Regions from separate parts of the Homo sapiens genome. Here region 1 is linked to region 2. The links are contacts of gene promoters, found by promoter capture Hi-C in blood cells and fetal thymus (Javierre and others, 2016). All regions are on one chromosome and are shown on one strand. The core of a region is centred on a gene start or on the middle of the fragment in contact, and the rest is flanking DNA. Distances in the headings are between cores, read along the strand shown.

The links. The method cuts DNA at HindIII sites, captures the fragments that hold promoters and counts their contacts. A CHiCAGO score of 5 or more calls a contact.
Region 1: a contact is called between the fragment with the promoter of GLYCTK here and a fragment that was not itself captured in region 2, in 1 of 17 cell types (non-activated CD4 T cells). The highest score is 5.8, in non-activated CD4 T cells.

Annotation. Positions count from the first base shown.
Region 1 is chr3:52,282,536-52,289,201 of GRCh38, reverse strand. It overlaps GLYCTK (glycerate kinase), which reads right to left and starts at 1,374. Exons shown (of 5, transcript NM_145262.4): 1 at 1,326-1,374. It overlaps GLYCTK-AS1 (GLYCTK antisense RNA 1), which reads left to right. Exons shown (of 1, transcript NR_046719.1): 1 at 1-622. It overlaps LOC107986086 (a long non-coding RNA gene), which reads left to right and starts at 1,182. Exons shown (of 3, transcript XR_001740699.2): 1 at 1,182-1,369; 2 at 4,611-4,674; 3 at 6,271-6,666. RefSeq lists enhancers at 1,607-1,716, 543-1,742, 1,048-1,789. The HindIII fragment of the contact is 11,873 bases long and covers 1-5,740 here.
Region 2 is chr3:50,331,636-50,338,746 of GRCh38, reverse strand. RASSF1 (Ras association domain family member 1) reads left to right here. Exons shown (of 6, transcript NM_007182.5): 2 at 736-842; 3 at 6,593-6,697; 4 at 6,891-7,111. It overlaps RASSF1-AS1 (RASSF1 antisense RNA 1), which reads right to left and starts at 1,236. Exons shown (of 1, transcript NR_109831.1): 1 at 447-1,236. RefSeq lists enhancers at 373-462, 543-802, 630-1,201 and silencers at 1,273-1,452, 1,523-1,832. The HindIII fragment of the contact is 4,225 bases long and covers 1-4,102 here.

The DNA.
Region 1 (6,666 bases), core at 125-2,624, 2.0 Mb before region 2:
AGCAAGTATGGACTGAGCAGGGTAAGGAGGCTGGGAATTGAGGTTCCAGCTCTACTATAGGCTTTCTGAGTGGCTGGGACACCTCCATTTCTCTCACTGGGCCTCATCCGCAAAATGAGACATGGGGTGAGATTAACACTACGCTCTTCCCTTAACAACCTCAGGCTCTCTGATACTGTCCACTGCAACACAGATCTCAAACACCGGTTTACCCCACACCCAAATATGGTGGTTACTTCTAGACTTTGACCATTTTGCTTGCCTAGTTCTCAGCTCTCCGGTAAGAAAAGACAGCCATGCCTGACTTCTGTTGTGAAAGGGAACACAGAGGGCATCGTCATGGGGATTCCGAAAATGGGTCCAGTTTTGGCCAGGGGGACCCCTGGAGCTTGCCCATTGGACTTGGAGCTAAAAGCATCTTAGCAACTAAGACAGCCGGTCTTTATAGCCTGGATGAAATTTGTATCTATTTCCCAGATGGACAAGAGCCTAGAAGATCCCAGCCTTGCCACTGGGTATGAGCACAGGACAGGGGGACGCTCAATGCTAAGGCTGCCAGAGAAAATACAGGACTTCCGGTTAAATTTGAATTTCAAATAAACAAGTAATTTTTAAAGTATAAGTATGTGCATACAATGTTTAGGACTTAACAATTATTCGTCGTTTATCTTAACTCAAATTTAACTGGACGTGGCCCGGCGCAGTGGCTCACGCCTGTAATCCCAGCACTTTGGAAGGCTGAGGCGGGCGCATCACCTGAGGTCAGGAGTTCGAGACCAGCCTGACCAACGTGGTGAAACCCCGTCTCTTCTAAAAATACAAAAATTAGCCGGGTGTGGTGGGCGCCCGTAATCCCAGCTACTCGGGAGACTGAGGCATGAGAATCATTTGAACAGGGGAGGCGGAGGTTGCAGTGAGCCGAGATCGCGCCACTGCACTCCAGCCTGGGTGACAGAGTGAGATTCTAACTCAAAAAAAATGTAACTGGACGCTTTGCATTTTTATTTGCTAAGTCCTCCAATTCTATCCAAGACACGGTCTCTCCGAAACTCCGGGAGGCTCCAGAGCAAAACAACGGAAATAGGAAGACTACCGGTCTTGACTCCTCCCCGCCATCAAAGAAGGCTGGTACCATTTCCGGCTTTCCCTAGACAGTAGGGGGCCGGAAGTGACGTCATCCTAAGGTAGGGCCTTAGCGAGGGAAATGGCTGCCGCGTAATGCCCGGTGATGCGAGAAAGAAGGGCCTGCTGCCACCAGGACCCGTCATCGCCCAGCCCAGGGACCGCTTCTGAAGGCCATGCGAGCCCTGGCGGCGCAGACTTACCAGCCCACAGCTCCGGCCGCGGTGCCCAGCGCTGGAGAACGGAAGTACTAGGGGGTGGGCGGAGCGGAAGCCGGAAGTGTGGGTGGGTGGAGCGGCGCAGGCGGGTGCGAGCTCTGGCTGAAGCCGGTGTCCGGGAGGGGAGAGTTTAGCATATTGGCTCTTTGCTGGCCACTGACAGACCTGGAAGGAGTCACCTTCAGTCCTCATTTTTTAAATCTCTACATTGAGGGTAATAATCCCCGCCTCACCGATTGCCGATTTTTTTTTTGAGACGGGGTCTCATTCTGTCGCCCAGACTGGAGTGCAGAGTCGCGGTTTCGGCCCAATGCAACCTCCGCCTCCCGGATTCAAGCGATTCTCATGCCTCAGCCTCCCGAGTAGCTGGGATTACAGGCATGTGCCACCACTCCGGGCTAATTTTTGTATTTTTTAGTAGAGACGGGCTTTCGCCATGTTGCCCAGGCTGGTCTCGAACGCCTAACCTCAAGCGATCCACCCACCTCAGCCTCCGAAAGTGATGGGATTACAGACTTCAGCCGCCGCACCCGGCCTCTCCCTTCCTTTATCCTGTACGGTCAGTCAGCAGATGCACCCTGAGTGTCAGGCACTGACTGGGCTGAGCAAACGAACTGAGAATCACTACTTCCCCACAACTCACCCCTTCTGGAGCCAGATTAAGTAATTCCCGCTCCTCTCCATGGCTTTTATTCCACAACTTATTATTGTTCTTCCCTCTCCCACCATGGGCCACCAAATACAGCTCTGGCTTAGCAAGAGTTCCATTCTGCGATCCTCAAGCACATAAGCGGCATGTAAACGCTAATGACTCTGGGCCTACCTCGCTGTCCCTACTCTCATCCGGGGCCTACCCTGTGTTGGCTGGATGCCTTCCCACATTCATAAGATGAGTCCTGATCAGACTCCAAAAATACAAAACAGTTCACTGTTTTTACTGATGTTTTCTTAGGGAGATAGAGGAGAGAGTTGCATCACAAATCACACACTTGATTTCCTAACAATTTTATTGAAACATGTTTCTTGGCAGGGCGCAGTGTTTCACGCCTGTAATCCCAACATTGGGGAGGCCAAGGTGGGCGGATCGCTTGAGCCTAGGAATGCGAGACCAGCCTGGGAACATGGCGAAACTTATCTCTACCAAAAAAAAAAGAGCCAGGTGTGGTGGCATGCTCCTGTAGTCCCAGCTACTCAGGAGGCTGAGATGGGAGGATCACCTGAGCCTGGGAGGTAGAGGCTGCAGTGAACCTTGATCACGCCACTGCACTCCAACCTGGGCCCCTGTCTCAAAAAAAAACCAACAAACAAAAACACATTTCTTTCTCTTGGTTTTGAGGTGGAGTCTTGCTCTGTCACCCAGGCTGGACTGCAATGGCACAGTCTCAGCTCACGGCCACTGCACTGCAGCCTGGGCACGATGTCGGCTCACTGCAACCTCCGCCTCCCAGGTTCAAGCAATTCTCCTGCCTCAGCCTCCCGAATAGCTGGGACTACAGGCGCCCGCCACCACGTCCAGCTAATTTTTGTATTTTTAGTAGAGACAGAGTTTCACCATGTTGGCCAGGCTGGTCTCGAACTCCTGACCTTGTGATCCACCGCCCTTGGCCTCCCAAAGTGCAGGGATTACAGGCGTATAAACAATTACAGGCGCCCGGCCTATATAAACAACCTTCATCTTTCCCCATGCTGGAGAACACTAATTGCCACTGCTTGGTGTCTGTGTTTCCCTGGATGGCTGCCCTCACACTTTATGCTTGAATAAATTCTTTTAACTGGATATCGAACCTTTTGATGATTTTTAGGTTGACATTAGAAATGTGTTTTTGGGACAGGTGCAGTGGCTCATGCCTGCAATCCCAGTACTTTGGGAGGCTGAGGCAGGTGGGATCATTTGAGGTCAGGAGTTCGAGACTGGCCTAACCAATATGGTGAAACCCCATCTCTACTAAAAAATACAAAAATTAGCTGGGCATGGGCCGGGCACAGTGGCTCACACCTGTAATCCTAGCACTTTGGGAGGCTGAGGCAGGTGGATCACCTGAGGTCAGGAGTTCAAGACCAGCCTGGCCAACATGGCGAAACCCCGTCTCTACTAAAAATACAAAAATTAGCTAGGCATGGTGGTGTGTGCCTGTAATCCCAGCTACTGGTGGGGCTGAGGCAGGAGGATTGCTTGAACCTGGGAGGTTGCAGTGAACCGAGATTGCGTGACTGCCCTCCAGCCTGGGTGACAAAGCGAGACTCCGTCTCAAAAAAAAAAAAAAAAAAGATTGTTTATATAGGCAAAAACAGGAGTGCTGACCAGAATTACAACATTTTCCAAAAAAAGGCTAACATAAATACAAGATTTGGTTGGCTACTATTGATTATACTGGAAGGAGTTTGCTTAACATTCTATTGTAAAGAGACAACAATCACAAGGGTCTCTATCTCCCACATCATCTAGTCTAAGTCTGAATGAAGAATAGGGAGCCTGGTTAATGTATAACATTTCAATACAAAGATCAGGAAGCAGCAGTCATGCATCAGAGAAGAAAAAAAAAAAGCAATGCCTGCTCAGTTTCCAGGGCTTCACTTTTCTCCTTCACATTATAAATTGGGAATGTCCTAAAATTTTATTTTCTTTTCACACCCCCTACCTGCTCCCTTTGGCAGTTGCTACATCTCTCCTTAGGTCTCCAAACCATGCTGTGCTCTTGTCATGAACCTTTCCCTTCCTCTGGCCCCCACTTCCAGCTCTCTCCCTGGATTTTTCTTTTTCTTATATATACATATATTTTTATTTGAGACAGGATCTCACTCTGTCACCCAGGTTGGAGTTCAGTGCCATCATCTTGGATTATTGCAACCTCCACCTCCGAGGCTCAAGTGATCCTCCCACTTCAGTCTCCCAAGTAGCTGGGACCACAGACGTGCACCACCACACCCAGCTAATTTTTTGTATTTTTTGTAGAGAAGTGGTTTTGCCATGTTGGCCAGGCTGGTCTCAAACTTCTGCGCTCAAACCATCTTCCTGCCTCTGTCTCCCAAAGTGCTGGGATTACAGGTGTGAGCCACCACACCCGTCCTTCTCCCTGGATTTTTCCTTTTAAAATATGAGACTTTGTATTCCTTCTCCTAAATGATTTCCCACCACATCATCAAAACAAAGGCATCCGTAGGTGGAATTGCCCTCTTTAATGTGGGAGAGGTTGTAAATACTGAAAATTTTATTGTTTTTTCTTGGTTATAGTCAGCTATATTCCTTCCATGCATTTATTCCTTCCTCAGACATAATTCAAGACATTTCCTGAGTGCCTTCTGTGTGGGCCGAATGCTGTAGCTGCTGGGATAGGTAAGAAGTGGTACTTTTAATTTTAATTTTTTTTTGTTTTTAGGAGACAAAGTCTCACACTGTCGCCCAGGCTGGAGGACAGTGGTGATTACAGCTCACTATAGCCTCAACCTCCTGGGTTGTAGCGATCCTCCTGCCTCAGCCTCTCAAGTAGCTGGGACTACAGGTGCACACCACCATGCCTGGCTAATTTTTTGTGGAGACAGGGTCTTGCTTTGTTGCCCAAGCTGGTCTCAAACTCCTGGGCTCAAGCAGTTCTCCTGCCCCAGCCTCTGAAAGTGCTGGGACTATAGGTGTAAGCCACTGTGCCCAGCCTGGGCTTGCAGGGTTACTCCGTGGGAGGGAAGGTCAGCTGTGTTGGAGGCAGGGTAAAGTGGAGCTGTGTCCTATGTAAGGGCTGTACAACACCTTAAAACTGGGAGGCCGAGGTGAGCGGATCACTTGAGGTCAGGAGTTTGAGACCAGCCTGGCCAACATGGCAAAACCCCGTTTCTACTAAAAATACAACAACAACAACAACAACAACAACAACAACAAATTAGCCGGATGTGGTGTCACGCACCTATAATTCCAGCTACTCGGAAGGCTGAGGTGGGAGAATTGCTTGAACCCAGGAGGTAGAGGTTGCAGTGAGCTGAGATCACACCACTGCACTCCAGCCTGGGTGACAGAGTGAGACTCTGTCTCAAAAAAAAAAAAAAAAAAATTAAAAAAAATAAAACATCTTAAAGCTATTTTTCTTGGAAGGAGGAGTTGGGGAGAGTAAAACAAAACACTAGGAAGCAGTTCAGCATGACTCTAGGCAAGCACTGATGAGAGGCCACTAAAGCTGTGTATGTTGGATTGTTTGGGAGTTTTTAAGCCTTAGGAAACAGTGCTGTAGTTTTAGAGACAGTGGCCTTGGCCCTGAGACTCTAGGCAGTTCCTTCTGGCTCTGAGCAGTCAAGGCTTATCTGGGAAGATTCCATCCTTTCCTTCCAGACTAAGAAGGTATTATTTACCGACAGTGGTCTTTGTTAAATGTGAATGATTTCTTGTCCTTTGCCCTGGAAACAGAACACAAGCTTTCCAGTGCTGAAGCAGAGTGTGAATCCAGACTTCAGTGCTTATTGGTTAAGTGACCCTGAGAAAGTTAACCTCTCAGAACTTCAGAGTCTTCATCACAGTATGTTTCCAGTGCATGTAGAAAGGCTCAGTGTTGTTGCTGTACTAGTCCTGGGTTGAGCCAGCTTCATGGGTGTGTGACTTGTATAGTCAGAAGGACCCTGCACTTCATTTAATATTCTGTTGTTGTCATCTTGAGATTCTTAGCAATTTTTTAACAAGGGGCCCTACAAATTGGGTAGTTAGTCCTGCTGCCAGGGAAAGATACTTTCTTTTTATCCAGGCCCCCGGTCCTGGAGTCTCAAGACCTCTCTGAGGAATTCCAGTAGAAGTGGACATACATTAGTAACTAAATTTATTTATTATTTCTGGTCATATTCATGTATATCCCACAAGATTTTCCATGCACACACTTAAATTCTGTCTAAATAAAAATGGCTTACTTCATCCTTGTAATATTTATTTTTTTTCTTTCTTTTTTTTTTGAGACAGAGTTTCACTCTATCGCCCAGGCTGGAGTGCGATCTCGGCTCTGCAACCTCCGCCTCCCGGGTTCAAGCAATTCTCCTGCCTCAGCCTCCCGAGTAGCTGGGACTACAGGCGCACACCACCATGCTTGGCTAATTTTTGTATTTTTTGGTGGAGTCGCAGTTTCACCATGCTGCCCAAGCTGGTCTTGAACTCCTGACCTCAAGTGATTCACCCACCTTGGCCTCCCAGAGTGCTGGGATTACAGGCATGAGCCACTGTGCCTGGCCCTTATCTGAGGAATTTAGAAGGGAGCAAAGACCACCTGGTAACCATCCAACAGGCCATCCAGAGGCAAAACTCCTTATCTGGGGAAATTAGAAGTAATTAAACTTCCCTAGTATCTAAAGTGGGCATCTG
Region 2 (7,111 bases), core at 741-3,240:
GGGTAGAGGGGAGAGTGAAGGCGAAGGATTAGAGTGTATAGAGACCAGTGTCTTGGTCTGAGGGGAGTAGAGACAGGTGACAACCACAGGGCAGACGTAGGTTAAAGGTGTTTAGTTTTTCCTTCAAGTAAATGGGCAGATGTATTCCATATACGTTCCCAGTGAAGGGCCGGGTGCGGTGGCTCAAGCCTGTAGTCCCAGCACTTTGGAAGGCCGAGGCGGGTGGATCACCTGAGATCAGGAGTTTGAGACCAGCCTGGCTAACATGGTGAAACCCCGTCTCTACTAAAAATACAAAAATTAGCTGGGCATGGTGGCGGGCGCCTGTAATCCTAGGTACTCAGGAGGCTGAGGCAGAAGAATCGCTTGAACCCAGGAGGCGGAGGTTGCGGTGAGCCGAAATCGCGCCATTGCACTCCAGCCTGGGTGACAAAAGCAAGACGCAGTTTTTTGTTGTTGTTTTTTTAATTGCCAATGAGGAAAGGGGAAGTTCTGTGCTAGGCGATAGAGATCCAACTGTTGAGCAGGCCTCTCTGCCTGTGGCCTTCCGGCCGGTTTCCAGACGCCCAGGTGGCCAACATTAGAGTCCGCGTAGCAGTGTGAGGTAACCCACTGAGATAGGTCGGGCCTGCGGAGCCTGGCGAGCAGCGGCCCTCTCCCTGGGGCTTCCCTTCAATCTCCGGGACATTTCCCCGACCTGGAGCTCCTCCGCCTCACCGCCAGGCCTCTCTGCAGATTGCAAGTTCACCTGCCACTACCGCTGCCGCGCGCTCGTCTGCCTGGACTGTTGCGGGCCCCGGGACCTGGGCTGGGAACCCGCGGTGGAGCGGGACACGAACGTGGTGAGCGCGGGGCCGAGGGCGTATGGGAAGGGCGAGGATGGGCAGGCCACAGTGCAGGCATTCTCGAGGGCTGCCTGGGTGCCGCGCGCAAGGAGCGTTCTAATTGCCGATTTCCCGGCGGCACAGAGAGGCTAATTCTGCGCGGGGGCTGGGAGGGGAGCCTGGATTGCCGGCTCCGCAAGTACTCCACCCGCTGCAAGCGGACCCGGGCCCAGGCTGACCCAGGCTCCGCGCACGCGCACTTCCCGCACCTTCCCGCCCTCGCCTCCGGCCAGAGGCCACTCTTGTGCGCTTGCCCGGACGCTGGCACCCGCCCCCGTTCCCTGTGGTAGGTGGGGTCTGTGAGTGGAGCTCCGGAGCGATGAGGTCATTCCTGGGGGCGAAGCGTGCGTGTCCCCGCCCCGGCGTTCCTGCCCCAATGAGACAAGAGCTAGATCCCGGCGATCTACGTTTCAGTCTTAACGGTTGCGGCGCGGCTCTGGCCCGGGCGCACGCGCACACTGACACGCGTACACGCACGCACGCGACCGGGGCGGTGGTTGGCGGCTACGGACGCGCAGGACTGGGGGACGGGCGGGTACGGCTATGGGCGAGGCGGAGGCGCCTTCTTTCGAAATGACCTGGAGCAGCACGACGAGCAGTGGCTACTGCAGCCAAGAGGACTCGGACTCGGAGCTCGAGCAGTACTTCACCGCGCGAACCTCGCTAGCTCGCAGGCCGCGCCGGGACCAGGTGGGAGCCAGGGGGTGCCGGCGGGCGGGAGGGGAAGCGGTCGCTGGAGCTCCGCCCTCCCCGGTCCGTTGCCGCGTCCTGGGTCGGTGGGCAGCCCCACCCTCCTGGCTACGTGGCTCCCCGCGGGTCCTGGCCGGGGACCTGCCCGCGGAACCGTGCGTAAGACCCCGATTCCACCGCCTAGATGCTGGGTGCCGGGGCCCCCTTGGTTTCTGTCACAGACAGGTTGAACACGGAAAAAGCAGCTGTATGGCTTGTGGTAGACCTGAGCCGGGCATTATCCAGCTATGACTAAAGCCGACCGAGCAGTTTGGACTAGCACCTCGATTTCCGCGTTCGAATGCTCCTGCTCCCTCCTTGGGGAGACTAGGGGAGGATGTGGAGAGGGAAGAGTCCTCGCCAGGAATTGAGAAGTATGTTTAGGAAAACTTGAGAGGCAGAGAGAGATCCTGCTCCTCCATCTGCACTCCTGTATGGAGCCAGCTGAGCCCTCACCTCTTCCCTGTTCTGGCCTGTCACCAGCTGCTGGAATGTGGAAGATTCTGTTCCCTTCCTCTAGGGTGGATCTGGAGAAAGATTTGGGAATAGATAGGAAAGAAGTCTTGTTTTGGACCATAAGCATTCAGGAGCACTTTACCCACAGGAAGGGGGAAAGCTAGATTATAAAATGCCTAAAGAGGTGGAAAAAGAGATCCAGGTTACTAACCCAGGACTGTAAGGTGTCTCGGAACCTCCTAGGTATCCCCATTATCGGAGAACTGTGTGCCAGATGCCATTGGTGTGACCACCAGGCTCAGAGAACCAGGCCTAGGCACCAGGAAAAAGAAACAGGGACTGTGAAGCTCAGTATGCCTGGCAGAAATGGGGCGGAAATCCTTATTTAAGTAAAGAAAGTGGAGTTGTGAGTGATGCTTCAGATAAAATTTTACAAAATTCCTTACAAAATGGGTGGTGCTCAGCACGCCAAAATCTTAGCCCAGAGCTTGGGTGCAAGGGTTGAGTTGAGTGTAGACCCCTGGGCTTGTCTTCATGTCAGTCAGTCCTGAGCCATTTTCCACTGTGGAAAGGTGGGAAAACCACAAGACACTAACCAATTGAAAAGGAGGGCTAGCCACGGAGGTGCACACCTGTAATCCCAGCTACTTGGGAGGGTGAGGCAGAAGGATCACTTGAACCTGGGAGGCAGAGGTTGCAGTGAGCCAAGATCGTGCCACTGCACTCCAGCCTGAGTGACAGAGTGAGACTCTGTCTCAAAAATAGAAAAGGAAGCCAAGTACGGTGGCTCACACCTCTAATGCCAATGCTTTGGGAGGCCAAGGCAGGTGGATCATTTGCAATCAGGAATTCGAGGTCAGCCTGGCCAACATGGTGAAACCCTATCTCTACTAAACATACAAAAATTAGCCGGGCATGGTGGTGTGTGACTGTAGTCCCAGCTACTTGGGAGACTGAATCACTTCAACCGGGAGGCAAAGGTTGCAGTGAGCCAAGATCGTGCCACTGCACTCCAACCTGGGTGACAGGGTGAGGCTCTGTCTCAAAAAAAAGAAAGAAGGCTGGGCTTGGTGACTCATGCCTGTAATCTCAGCATTTTGGGAGGCCAAGGCAGGCAGATCACTTGAGGCCAAGAGTTCGAGACCTGCCAGGCCAACATAGCAAAACCCCGTCTGTACTGAAAATACAAAAAAATTATCTGGCCATGGTGGTGTGTGCCTGTAATCCCAGCTACTGGGGAGGCTGAGGCAGGAGTATCACTTGAACCCAGAAGACAGAGGTTGCAGTGAGTCGAGACTGGGCCACTGCATTCCAGCCTGGATGAGAGAGCAAGACTCTGTCTCAAAAAAAAAAAAAAAAAAAAAGAAAGAATAGGAGGCTGAGAAGTCCCAAGTTATATGTTAAAAAAAAAGAAAAAAACATCAGTTTTAGGCCAGGTGCAGTGGCTCACACCTTTAATCCCAGCACTTTGGAAAGCCGAGGTGGGTGGATCATGAGGTCAGGAGTTCAAGACCAGCCTGGCCAAAATGGTGAAACCCCGTCTCGACTAAAAATACAAAAAATTAGCCAGTTGTGGTGGCAGGCACCTGTAATCCCAGCTACTTGGGAGGCTGAAGCAGAGAATTGCTTGAACCCAGGAGGCAGAGATTGCAATGAGCCAAGATCGCACCACTGCACTCCAGCCTGGAAAACAGAGCGAGACTCTGTCTCAAAAAAAAAACCATCAGTTTTTATGGACAGTGGTAGAGTGGAGGGTGGGTCCCTATGGTGCAGAAGGGAAATTCCATGGTCCTGCTGTGCATCCGACTGGGATGGCTGTTGAAATCCTCTTCCAGCAGGCAGCTTTGGAAACAGAAAAAGAAACTCTTCCTCCTTTAGAATCCTGGAAGGGCTGTGCAGTGCCTCTAATCCAAGTCTGTTTTCTGAGTGAAGATAGGGAGGTTCATCACCAGAAGGGAAGGGGCTGGAAATGAGGTCACTGCATCCCAGCCCAGGGCTCCTGGGTCATCCAGGAAGGGAAGAAGGAGCAAGCTTTCTCATTGTTAGGTAGGAGCTCAGAGCCATCACAAGAACAAGTTAGCACCATCCCTGTGCCCTCCCTGTTCTGCAAACAAAATGATCTTCCTTCTTGCCCTGGCACTAGAGTCTGTCTGGCATTTCTCCTGCCCCTAGTACTCCTCCCATCTGGGTACTTCTTCCCGTTGGTGTACTGAACAAACACATCCACTGCTTTATTCACAGCCTCCAGCCCTCATTTTCCAGGGCCCACACCATTTGTTTTTACTAACCCGACAAGGTTGCCCACTGTCCCCAGTAAGGTTTGTACTGGGGTTTTTACTCCAGTGCTCTTCTCCATCCAGGAGACCTTTGGATACTTGGGGAAGAAAATGAGCTTAAATTCCCACCCCTCCCCCTTTACCTTTTTCCTGTAAGGCCCTGGCCTTAGTTCTTAGCCCCACATCCTTGCTGGCTGCAGAATAGCAGCGGGTTCTGGGTAAGGAGCATTCTGCTAAAACGCTCCACCCTGCTCCCTCATCTGTCCTCTCCATTTGTCCCCATCAGATGGTTTAAGTGCTTAAGGGGACTCCAGGGCGGAGTCAGGGAGAACCCTGGCTCTCCTGGGCTAGGCACAAGATCATTCTACAGGAAACCTTGTGGGAATTCTTCTGGGACAAAGTATTGGTCAGCGCTGAGCTTAGCTGTGTCTGTGACACTCGCATTCTAACTAGGGCCTATCTGACGTCAACAGGAAGTAAGGCTGATGCAGTGGGGCCAAGGGAGTCTGGGAGAAGAAAGTCGGTTCAGAGCCCTGGCTGCCCTGTCCCACACTCCACCCTTCCGGCAAGAATCCAGTCCCTAGATGAGGTGGGGAGTGAGTGGTCGAGTTAAAAATCTCTGGGTCGGGTACGATGGTTCACGCCTGTAATCCCAGCACTTTGGGAGGTGAAGGCAGGCGGATCACTTGAGGTCAGGAGTTCAAGACCAACCTGGCCAATGTGGTGAAATCCCATCTCTACTAAAAATACAAAAATTAGCCGGGTGTTGTTGTGGCACGCGCCTGTAGTCCCAGCTACTCGGGAGTCTGAGGCAGGAGAATCGCTTGAACCCAGGAGGCAGAACTTGCAGTGAGCCAAGATCCAGCCACTGCACTACAGCCTGGGCGACAGAGTGAGGCTTCGTCTCAAAAAAAAAAAAAATCTTTGGGCCAAATCTCCAGACAGCACAGGCAGGTGCAGAAACCCACCAGGAAGCTGCCTGTGTACCTCTGGCAGATTGGAGCCTGGCCTAAAGCTGCCTTTTATGCAGCTTGGGTCAAGGTTAAACATCATGTCACAGTGATTTTTCTCACTATGTGTGAGACATGGAGAACTGGCTCCAAGTACTACTCTGTCCACTGGTGGCTGGACTACTGATGTGCACCACTCTCCACTCCTCTCACCCTGCAGTGGGTCATGGCCCCGTGCCGGGGCAGAGGAGAAAAATGGGCTGCCTTCTCCAGGACAAACCCTCACTCCAACTCAACTAGGGTGCTGTGATCAGAATGTGCAATTGAGGTGTGATTTTACTGATTTTTTTTTTTTTTGAGACCGAGTTTCGCTCTTGTTGCCCAGGCTGGAGTGCGATGGCACGATCTCAGTTCACTGCAACCTCCACCTCCCGAGTTTGAGCAATTCTCCTGCCTCAGCCTCCTAAGTAGCTGGGATTACAGGCATGTGCCACCACGCCTGGCTAATTTTGTATTTTTAGTAGAGACGGGGTTTCTCCATGTTGGTCAGGCTGGTCTCAAACTCCTGACCTCAGGTGATCCACCCGCCTCGGCCTCCCAAAGTGCTAGAATTACAGGCGTGAGCCAACGTGCCCAGCCTGTTTTTGTTTTTTGTGTTTTGAAGCAGGGTCTCACTCAGTTCCCCAGGCTGGAGTGCAGTGACACGATAATAGCTTACTGTAGCTGCAATCTCCCGGGCTCAAACGATCCTCCCACCTCAGCCTCCTGAACAGTTGGGACTACAGGCACACCACCACACCTGGCTAATTTTTTTTTTTCTTTTTTTAGTAGAGATGAGGTCTTGCTATGTTGCCCAAGCTGGTCTCAAACTCCTGAGGATCAAGTGATCCTCCTACCTTAGCCTCCCAAAATGCTGGGATTGCAGATGTGAGCCACCACACCCAGCCTGATTTTACTTTAAATGAGAGTCCCTCTTCAGAGTCCCTCAGCTGTTCCTGGCCCCTGGCCATGTGCCTTCAGTTGCCCCTGCTTCTGTGGTATCCTTAAGGCTACATTCAGTGCTGAGGCCCTAGGCAGGCAGCAGAGAGAAGCCAAATGATTCTGTCTTTCCCTTATCCACCCAGAGCATGCAAAACCAGGAGCAGTGGTGGGTTCAGGGTGGGCACCAGCTATGTATATGTACATCAGGGACAGGGGGCCAAAGGCAGTCAGTTTCCAAAGACTGCCCCAGAGGCCATTTTTCAGAGAAGCCCTGGGTTCCTCAAGGGCCCTGTGTCCATGCTGGCCCATCTTGCAGGACGAGCCTGTGGAGTGGGAGACACCTGACCTTTCTCAAGCTGAGATTGAGCAGAAGATCAAGGAGTACAATGCCCAGATCAACAGCAACCTCTTCATGAGCTTGGTGAGTTGACTGCTCAGGAAGGGGGCGTGGGGAGGAGCAGGTACCCAGCTATGTGCCTGATACTCAGAGGGTCACAACTGAGGTTATCTTGGGTGGGCGCAAGCAGTAATTTGTGCATACCCAGCCTAGCCCCAAGTAGACTGACATCTCACCTGGAACCTATTATCAAGGTTTGGTTTCTCTATTTCTTTAGAACAAGGACGGTTCTTACACAGGCTTCATCAAGGTTCAGCTGAAGCTGGTGCGCCCTGTCTCTGTGCCCTCCAGCAAGAAGCCACCCTCCTTGCAGGATGCCCGGCGGGGCCCAGGACGGGGCACAAGTGTCAGGCGCCGCACTTCCTTTTACCTGCCCAAGGATGCTGTCAAGCACCTGCATGTGCTGTCACGCACAAGGGCACGTGAAGTCATTGAGGC